Linked DNA regions of Homo sapiens: regions 1 and 2 are each linked to region 3. The links are contacts of gene promoters, found by promoter capture Hi-C in human tissues and cell types (Jung and others, 2019). All regions are on one chromosome and are shown on one strand. The core of a region is centred on a gene start or on the middle of the fragment in contact, and the rest is flanking DNA. Distances in the headings are between cores, read along the strand shown.

Region 1 (3,318 bases), core at 326-2,825, 170 kb before region 3:
GGCCTGGACCTTGTCCTTGGTCAGGGACTCAATCATCTTGGTGCCCAGGTCGTAGATGGTCTCCATCTCTGTGGTCTTGAGGGTCAGTTTGCCCACCTTGGAGCCCTGAGAGTGGGGACAAGCCAGGGATGGGGCTCAGAGAGGGCCCTGATGTTGCCCCAGTGCCCCCAGTGTTGATAAGCTTCTGGCTCTGCTCTGGCCTCTGCTTCCACAGCTTCAAAATGGGCACAACACAAGGAAGCTCTCCAGGGAAGACATACGGTGCGCTCACCAGCCTGACGCGGTGATGGCTCCGCGGCTGAACATGTATGTCCCAACGGACCATACTGGACACTTGCAATGTGTACAGCTTTCTGTATGTCAATTAAAACTCAATAAAGTTCTTTTTTTTTTTGAGACGGAGTCTTGCTCTGTCGCCCACGCTGGAGTGTAGTAGCATGATCTCGGCTCACTGCAAGCTCTGCCTCCCGGGTTCACGCCATTCTCCTGCCTCAGCCTCCCGAGTAGCTGGGACTACAGGCGCCCGCCACCACGCATGGCTAATTTTTGTATTTTTAGTAGAGATGGGGTTTCACTGTGATAGCCAGGATGGTCTCGATCTCCTGACCTTGTGATCTGCCCACCTCGGCCTCCCAAAGTGCTGGGATTACAGGAGTGAGCTACTGCGCCTGGTGAATAAAGCTCTTTTTTTTTTTTTTTTTTTTTTTTTTTTTTTTTTTTGAGATAGAGTCTTGCTCTGTCGCCCAGGCTGGAGTGCAGTGGTGTGATCTCAGCTCACTCCAACCTCCATCTCCCGGGTTCAAGTAGTTCTCCTGCCTCAGCCTCCCAAGTAGCTGGGATTACAGATGTGTGCCACCATACCCAGCTAATTGTTTTGTGTTTTTATTATTTATTTATTTTTGAGATGGAGTTTCGCTCTTGTTGCCCAGGCTGGAGTGCAATGGTGTGATCTCGGCTTACTGCAACTTCTGCCTCCCAGATTCAAGCGATTCTCCTGCCTTAGCCTCCCAAGTAGCTGGGATTACAAGCACCCACCACCACGCCCAGCTAATTTTTTGTATTTTTAGTAGAGACAGGGTTTCACCATGTTGGTCAGGCTGGTCTTGAACTCCTGACTTCAGGTGATCCACCCGCCTCGGCCTCCCAAAGTGCTGGGATTATAGGCATGAACCACCGCGCCCAGCCATTTTGTATTTTTAGTATAGACAGGGTTTCACCATGTTAGTCAGGCTCGTTTCGAACTCCTGATCTCAAGTGATCGCCCACCTCAGCCTCCCAAAGTGCTGGGATTACAGGTGTGAGCCACTGCGCCTGGCCAAAACTCAATAAAGCTCTTAATAAAAATAGTAAACAGGCAGGGTGCAGTGGCTCACACCTGTAATCCCAGCACTTTGGGAGGCCGAGGCGGGCAGATCACAAGGTCAGGAGATCGAGACCACAGTGAAACCCCGTCTCTACTAAAAATACAAAAAATTAGCCGGGCGTGGTGGCAGGTGCCTGTAGTCCCAGCTACTCGGGAGGCTGAGGCAGGAGAATGGCATGAACCCGGGAGGCAGAGCTTGCCGTGAGCTGAGATTGTGCCACTGCACTCCAGCCTGGGCAACAGAGCAAGACTCCATCTCAAAAAAAAAATTATAATAAAATAAAATAAAAATAAAAAATAAAAATAGTAAACAAACAACATGCCTAAAAAATAAAGTCTATCAAAAACAACATAGGCCCGAGGTCTCGCAAAATTGCCAAATGTCACACTTTGACATTCCTATTTTATACCCAAATAAAAAGTGTTTTTGTTGATCACAAAATCAGAAAACACAGCTATGCAAAAAGGAGAAAACAGAAATTGTAAAAAAAAAAAAAAAAAAAAAAAAAGAGGCCAGGTATGGTGGCTCACGGCTGTAATCCCAGCACTTTGGGAGGCCAAGGTGGGCAGATCACGAGGTCAGGAGTTCAAGACCAGCCTGGCCAACATGGTGAAACCCCGTCTCTACTGAAAGTACAAAAATTAGCCGGGCGTGGTGGCATGCACACACCTGTAATCTCAGCTACTCGGAAGGCTGAGGCAGAAGAATCACTTGAACCTGGGAGGCAGAGGTTGCAGTGAGCCGAGATTGCACCACTGCATTCCAGTCTGGGGGACAGAGGGAGACTCTGTCTCGAAAACAAAAAAAAAAGAGAGAGCAAATCACCTGTATCATGTAAGATGGACAGGACATGCCTTTCGGCCACGGAACGAGTTTTGAAGTCTGTTGGGTTTTGAGGTCTGTTGGGAACTCACTAACAGATCTCTCTCATTATTTTACCGCCTCAGTTTCTATTGCCCATAATGTCCTTCATAAGGGGATAAGCCATTGTCAAGTTAACTGACCTCCTACTGTAGGCATGTACATGGCTCTAGTCTGCAGCTAGAACATTCCATGGGATTCTGACCTCAGTGCAGACCTGATATCTACTCTCTCCAACCCTGGCGCTGGAGGTGGCCTCAGCAGGGTACAGACTCACACAGACTCACCGTCCCTGTTGCTGGTCGATCAATCTGGATCTCCACCACCTCCCCTTCGATGATCTCCGTCTCCTCCCTAGCCAGAGAGCAGATCTGAGGAGACAGCCTGACACCTGGACCCTCGGGAATCACAACCTTCCATGAGCTCTGGGACAAAGGACGAGCCGCCCGGGGTGCGGGGTTGCTCCCAGGCTCTGGGGTCTGGCACCCGCCTCGGGTCCCCCGCTTACTTGATGCGAACGCCGATGGACCGCCGGAAGGCCTGCGTCAGCGCCTCGGTCTTGCTCATCTCCAGGGAGAAGATTTCACTGCCGGCGATGGCTGTGAATGGCGTGTCAGGGCCCAGGGCCTGCGCCATGCCTGGGAAGGAGGCAGTCTGTGTAGGTGAAGCCGCTCTGGCACCAGGTCCCCGACACCTGCTCTGTGGCAAACTAGCTTTTCTCCCACCCCAGGAAAGAGGGTTCAGTGCCATCCTACATGTAAGGACTTGGCTCCGAGCTGAGCAGAGCGCTGGGGAGGGGGAACTGGAGAGCGGGGTTCAGCCATGAGGCAGACAGTGAGTGAGAAGCCAGGCAGGGCAGGTTGCTCCGGCAGGCCTGGCTTAGAATCCCACATTGCCCAGAGGGTACACCCTAGAACCTCGCCACACCTCAGTCTCCCAGCCTCTACGAGCTGTTTAGCCTCAGAGCTGGACGAAGGGGACCAGGGACGAAGGCCAAGGAGCCCACACGATAGCTACAAGTGATGAAGGCAGACTGCCTCGGCTCCCATCCCAGATCCACCACTTAAGTGCAGGTGGCGCCGTGGGATCTTGA
Region 2 (3,206 bases), core at 180-2,679, 150 kb before region 3:
TTTACTCATTCACAGCCTCTGGTTTGGGGTGGGGTCTGGAATCCATTCAGGTCCGACTGTGTCCCTAAGGGAACCCAGAACAGCCCAGTCGCTTCCTGAGGGCAGCTGCTTCCCACGTGCTGGGGGCCTAAGAATAGCCCCCCCCCCCCCCCAGCAAAAGGGCAGACAACAGCTGGGAGGGGGAGGGACCTCAGAGCGAGGCTCCAGGCAGCAAAAAGCCAGGTCGGCGAGGAGCGGGGCTGCTTCTCCACTGCTGTGGCAGCAGGCCCAGAACCAAAGCCATGGTCTCAGGGAGGAAAACAGCCAACTGGAGAAATGTGGCAGAGGCAGAAGTGAGACAGCAAGTCTTAGAAACACGGCAGTGGCTAGAAAAATGCAGCCCTGGGGCACGGACAGAGGATGGGCTATGTTAGAAATGTGTGGCGTGGCCGAGGGCGGTGGCTCATGCCTGGAATCCCAGCACTTTGGGAGGCCGAGGTGAGAGGATAGCTTGAGCCCAGGAGTTCCTGACCCACCTGGGCAACATGGCGAAACTCTGTCTCTACTAAAAATACAAAAAATTAGCCAGGCATGATGGTGCGTGCTCGTGATCCCAGTTACTCAGGAGGCTGAGGTGGGAGGATGGGATGTGGAGGCTGTAGTGAGCCATAATTTTTTTTTTTTTTTTTTCAGATAGAATCTCACTCTGTCGCTGAGTCTGGAGTGCAGTGGTACAATCTCGACTCACTGCAACCTCCGCCTCCCGCGTTCAAGCAATTCTCCTGCCTCGGCCTCCCAAGTAGCTGGGACCTCAGGCACATGCTGCCACGCCCGGCTAATTTTTTGTATTTTAGTAGAGACAGGGTTTCACCATGTTGCCCAGGCTGGTCTCAAACTCCTGAGCTCAGGCAATCCGCCCGCCTCGGCCCCCCAAAGAGCTAGGATTACAGGCGTGAGCCACCGCGCCCAGCCCAGTGAGCCATGATTGCACCACTGCACTCCAGCCTGGGTGACCGGAGTGAGACCCTGTCAAAAACAAAAACAAACAAAAAAAAATGGAAGAAAGAAAGAAAAAGGAGAGAGGGAGGGAAGGAGGGAGAGAGGGAAGGAAGGAAGGAAGGAAGCAAGGAAGGAAGGAAGGAGGCTGTGGACTACAAAATGGGCCTATGGATAGAGGAAAGAGGTCGCAGGTGACAGATATGTGATGAAAGGAACAGAAACAAGGCATCATGGGGAAGAAAAGTGGCAGCATGAACAGTAAGAGAATCATTACAGGCTGGGTGCAGTAGCTCACGCCTGTAATCCCAGCACTTTGGTAGGCTGAGGCCAGGAGTTTGAGACCAGCCTGGGCAACATGGTGAAACCCTGTCCTTACAAAAAAGTTAAAAATTAGCCGGGATGTGATACCTTGTGCCTGTGGTCCCAGCTACGTGGGAAGCTGCGGTGGAAGGATTGCTTGAGCCTGGGAGATCGAAGCTTCAGTGAACCGTAATTGCACCACTCCCTTCCAGGCTGGAGGACAGAGCAAGACCCCGTCTCTGAAAATAAAAAAGGGCCTGCTTTAGGTGGCTCACACTTCTAATCTCAACACTTTGGGAGGCTAAGCAAGAAAACTGCTTGAACGCAGGAGTTCACGATCAGCCTGGGCAACATAGTGAGACCCCATCTCCACAAAAAATTAAAAAATCAGCCTGGCATGGTGGCCCACGCCTGTAGGAGGTGAGGTGGGAGGATTGACTGAGCCAGGGAGGTTGAGGCTATAGTGAACCATGTTCACACCACTGCACTCCAGCCTGGGCAACAGAGCGAGACCCTGTCTGAAAACAAAAAAGAAGCATCCCGTGGAAGGAATTAGCATCAGAAAGAAAAGACAGTGGGAGATGCAGATGGTTGGTAAGAGAAATGTGGCAGCAAGTACAGAAACAAGGCAGCAGGTAGGGGAAATGATTTGCAGAGTGGCCAGACAGGGCAGTGGGGGCATAGACACAGGACATGTGACATATGTGGTTATAAGCAGAGAAAGGAGGCAGCGAGTGGGAGAAGGGTAGCAGTTACAGGAATTAAACAGGAGGCTGGGTGCGGTGGCTCACGCCTGTAATCCCAGCACTTTGGGACGCCGAGGCGGGCGGATCACAAGGTCGGGAAATGGAGATCATCCTGGCTAACACAGTGAAACCTCGTCTCTACTGAAAATACAAAAAAAAGTAGCCGGGCGTGGTGGCGGGCCGCTGTAGTCCCAGCTACTCGGGAGGCTGAGGCAGGAGAATGGTGTGAACCCAGGAGGCAGAGGTTGCAGTGAGCCGAGATCATGCCACGGCACTCCAGCCTGGGCAACAGAGCCAGACTCCGTCTCAAGAAAAAAAAAAAATTAGCCAGGTGTGGGAGCGGGTGCCTGTAATCCCAGCTACTTGGGAGGCTGAGGCAGGAGAATTGCTTGAACCCGGGAGACAGAGGTTGCAGTGAGCTGAGATCGCACCACTGCACTCCAGCCTGGGCCACAGAGTGAGACTCCATCTCAAAAAAAAGAAAGAAAGAAAGTAAGCAGGGGGCACGGAAAATATTGCAACAGAGATGGAAAAAATGTGTAGCAGGAATAAATCATGCAAATAGAGAAGTAAGGCTAAGGCAGCAGGTGAGAAATTAGCAGCAGATATGGAAACAGAAGATAAGAGAGCTGAGGCTTAAGTCTATAGACATCTGCCTGCAAATGGGAGAACCACGGATGAGTGAAGATATGAGGCTGAAGCCCAGAGCCTCCCTATGGTGCCTCCCCAACCCCATCCCAGGTGTATTTCGGGCGCTGGCTGATCGAGGGAGGCCCTCTGGTGGTGCTCCTGGACGTGGGTGCCTCAGCTTGGGCCCTGGAGCGCTGGAAGGGAGAGCTCTGGGATACCTGCAACATCGGAGTGCCGTGGTACGACCGCGAGGCCAACGACGCTGTCCTCTTTGGCTTTCTGACCACCTGGTTCCTGGGTGAGGTAGGCCCCGTCTGACACATTCCACCCATACCTGAAACTACAATGACCATCAGCCCCTGGGCCAGAGGATGGGCTTCTCCCTGGGCATTCTGGGAGTCATAGGGTCCTTTAATCCAAGGATTAGCTCTGGCCTTTGAGGACATGAACATCCAAGGGCCCAGGCTCTACTCTCGATGCCAACTTCATTTACTCTAGTCTTCCAAGCATAGGGATTCTTGGAATCAGCCTCAAAGTGAGGCTGGCGGGCTT
Region 3 (3,383 bases), core at 217-2,716:
ATCCCAGGTCCTGGAGAGGAGGGGTCTGGGGGCCGGTGAGAATTTTTTATCTTGGTGAGTAAAGAGTTGGGCAGGGTTTGGGAGTTTTAGGTCTCAGGCAAGAGGTGACTGGGGTCCGGGACACTTGGGAGGAGGGGAGGAAGAGGTCAGGGGGCGGGGAGAGGGCCGACAACTGAGTCTCAAAGAGGACTGGACTGGCGTATCCAGACTCCTGGATCTGAGGGAGGAGGGGCTGGGGGCCTGGACTCCTGGGTCTGAGGGAGGAGGGGCTGGGGGCCTGGACTCCTGGGTCTGATGGAGGAGGGGCTGGGAATCCGGAGTCCTGGGTCTGAGGGAGGAGGGGCTGGGAATCCGGGGTCCTAGCGCTGAGGTTTGCCATTCTCATGTCCCACTCATCCTCTCCAGGTGGAAATTTGGACTCCCAGGGAGACCCTCTTCCCGGTGTGCCGCTGCCTCCTTCGGACCCCACGCGCCAGGAGACCCCTCCCCCCAGATCTCCCCCGGTGGCTAATTCGGGTTCCACGGGGTTCTCTCGCCGAGGGAGTGGGCGTGGAGGAGGTCCCACCCCCTGGGGGCCCGCGTGGGATGCCGGGATCGCCCCTCCGGTCCTGCCACAAGACGAGGGGGCATGGCCTCTGCGAGTCACTCTGCTACAATCCAGCTTCTAATCCGCCCAAAAGCGGCAGCCAATCGGAGCGCGAGGACGTGGTCTGGAGGTACCGCCGGAGATCTGGGACCACTCAGGGCATCAGGGGGCGTGGTCTGGTCCCCATTGCGGGCCCGGGAGGGGAATGGTTTCTATGGCCAAAGTTTGGTTTTCTCAACACTGTCTAAATTTGGATTAAAACTTTGAACTTTTAGTCAATAGCTTTCTTTCTGTCTGTCTGGGGTTGTGGCACTGGTGTCTCTGAGGGGCAGAGCTGGAGTCGTGGACTCCTGGGTCCTGAGAGAGGAAGGGACAGGGGGCTTGGACTTATAGGTCTCTGGGAAGAAGGGATAGAGAACCTGATCCCTCGGTCTGAGAGTGGAGGGGGCTGGGCCAGGATTCCCGGGTCTGAGGGAGGAAGGGGTGGGACCCTGACTCCTGGGTCTGAGGGAGGAGGGACTGGGAGGCTGGACTCCCGGGTCTGAGGGAGGAGGGGCTGGGACCCTGACTCCTGGGTCTGAGGGAGGAGGGGCTGGGAGGCTGGACTCCCGGGTCTGAGGGAGGAGGGGCTGGGAGGCTGGACTCCCGAGTCTGAGGGAGGAGGGGCTGGGGGCCTGGACTCCCGAGTCTGAGGGAGGAGGGACTGAGGCTTCTGGATTCCTGGGTCTGTGGGAGGAGGGACTGGGGCTCCTGGATTCCTGGGTCTGTGGGAAGAGAGGAGTGTCTGAGGGAGGAGGGGCTGGGGACAAACTTCCAGGTCTCTAGCCTTCCTGGCAACGCCCCCCGAGGCCGGACTTCCAGGATCCAGCCTCTATTGAGGATTTGATGCGACGGCCTCACGGGGCTTTGGAGGTGAAAGAGGCCCAGAGTAGAGAGAGAGAGAGACCGACGTACACGGGATGGCTACGGGAACGCGCTATGCCGGGAAGGTGGTGGTCGTGACCGGGGGCGGGCGCGGCATCGGAGCTGGGATCGTGCGCGCCTTCGGTGAGCCGGGTCTGACTGCTGGGAGCTGTGGAGTGTGAGAAAGGAAGGATGGGGGCGGGGTGATGGGGGCGGAAAATAGGGACTCCAGTACTGCAGCCAGGATTCTGATATTATAAAAGCCAATTTGCAGGCTAAAGTAAGCGTGTGGCGCTGTAGGCTAGGGCTGAGTCTGGCAGGGTCTCCGAAGGCAGTGGCCCCTTTCTCTGGGTCTGTTGGTGTAGCTACAAAACCAGTGGTTTGAGGAATGGCTCTGTCAGTCGTGGAGTTTGCTCCGGAAGCCACGAACGGGGGTTCAGGAGCCTCAGCAGAAACAAGGCAAGGAGAGTATGTGTCAAGGCGTCTGCCCTCTGTCCTATGGGTGATCATGAGACTGGGGTCACGAGGGGAGAGGGAGATCAGCCCCAATCCAGGTGGCCACAAGAGGGCGGCAGAGGCTTTAACCAAGGCTCGGAGAGTAACCTGTTCCCTTCCTATTCTCAGTGAACAGCGGGGCCCGAGTGGTTATCTGCGACAAGGATGGTGAGTGACGGTCCCTCAGCCCTCACCTTGGCCCTTCCTCCCTCAGACCCAGAGGTCCAGACCCCTAGCACCTCCTCCCTCAGACCCCGGAGTCCAGGCCCCCAGGCCCTACTTCCTCAGACCCAGGAGTCCAGACCTCAGCCCCTCCTCCCTCAGACCTAGGAGTCCAGGCCCCCAGCCCCTCTGCCCTCAGACCCAGGAGTCCAGGTCCCCAGCCCCTCCTCCCTCAGACCCAGAAGTCCAGGCTCCGGCACCTCCTCCCTCAGACCCAGGAATCCAAGTCCCCAACCCCTCCTCCTTCAGACCCAGGGGTCCAGGCTCCCAGCCCCTCTTCCCTCAGACCCAGGAGTCCAGGCTCTGGCACCTCCTCCCTCAGACCCAGGAGTCCAGGCCCCCAGGCCCTACTTTCTCAGACCCAGGAGTCCAGACCTCAGCCCCTCCTCCCTCAGACCCAGGAGTCCAGGCTCCCAGCCCCTCCTCCCTCAGACCCAGGAGTCCAGGCCCCCATCCCCTCCTCCCTCAGACCCAGGAGTCCAGGCCCCCAGCCCCTCCTCCCTCAGACCCAGGAGTCCAGGCTCCCAGCACCTCCTCCCTCAGACCCAGGAGTCCAGGCCCCCAGGCCCTACTTCCTCGGACCCAGGAGTCCAGACCTCAGCCCCTCCTCCCTCAGACCCAGGAGTCCAGGCCCCCAGCCCCTCCTCCCTCAGACCCAGGAGTCCAGGCTCCCAGCACCTCCTCCCTCAGACCCAGGAGTCCAGGCCCCCAGGCCCTACTTCCTCGGACCCAGGAGTCCAGACCTCAGCCCCTCCTCCCTCAGACCCAGGAGTCCAGGCCCCCAGCCCCTCCTCCCTCAGACCCAGGAGTCCAGGCTCCCAGCCCTTCCTCCCTCAGACCCAGGAGTCCAGGCCCCCAGGCCCTACTTCCTCGGACCCAGGAGTCCAGACCTCAGCCCCTCCTCCCTCAGACCCAGGAGTCCAGGCCCCCAGCCCCTCCTCCCTCAGACCCAGGAGTCCAGGCTCCCAGCCCCTCCTCCCTCAGACCCAGGAGTCCAGGCTCCCAGCCCCTCCTCCCTCAGACCCAGGAGTCCAGGCTCCCAGCCCTTCCTCCCTCAGACCCAGGAGTCCAGGCCCCCAGGCCCTACTTCCTCGGACCCAGGAGTCCAGGCTCCCAGCCCTTCCTCCCTCAGACCCAGGAGTCCAGGCCCCCAGGCCCTACTTCCTCGGACCCAGGA

The links. Contacts are between HindIII fragments. The study calls those that stand out against the background at their distance.
Region 1: a contact is called between a fragment that was not itself captured here and the fragment with the promoter of HSD17B14 in region 3, in 1 of the 25 tissues and cell types used here (psoas muscle).
Region 2: a contact is called between a fragment that was not itself captured here and the fragment with the promoter of HSD17B14 in region 3, in 5 of the 25 tissues and cell types used here (bladder, dorsolateral prefrontal cortex, liver and 2 more).

What each region holds. Positions count from the first base shown.
Region 1 is chr19:49,006,563-49,009,880 of GRCh38, reverse strand. RUVBL2 (RuvB like AAA ATPase 2) reads right to left here. Exons shown (of 15, transcript NM_006666.3): 5 at 2,734-2,863; 6 at 2,513-2,579; 7 at 1-105. Among named protein-coding and RNA genes, the nearest start is that of MIR6798, 1.7 kb to the left of the region's middle. RefSeq lists an enhancer at 1-441. The HindIII fragment of the contact is 7,286 bases long and covers 1-3,318 here.
Region 2 is chr19:48,986,945-48,990,150 of GRCh38, reverse strand. It overlaps GYS1 (glycogen synthase 1), which reads left to right. Exons shown (of 16, transcript NM_002103.5): 3 at 2,766-2,957. Among named protein-coding and RNA genes, the nearest start is that of GYS1, 4.8 kb to the left of the region's middle. RefSeq lists an enhancer at 1-386 and a silencer at 1,517-1,699. The HindIII fragment of the contact is 7,422 bases long and covers 1-3,206 here.
Region 3 is chr19:48,834,574-48,837,956 of GRCh38, reverse strand. It overlaps HSD17B14 (hydroxysteroid 17-beta dehydrogenase 14), which reads left to right and starts at 1,466. Exons shown (of 9, transcript NM_016246.3): 1 at 1,466-1,633; 2 at 2,114-2,152. The coding sequence starts at 1,546. PLEKHA4 (pleckstrin homology domain containing A4) reads left to right here. Exons shown (of 20, transcript NM_020904.3): 20 at 406-860. The coding sequence ends at 668. RefSeq lists a silencer at 489-558. The HindIII fragment of the contact is 14,395 bases long and covers 1-3,383 here.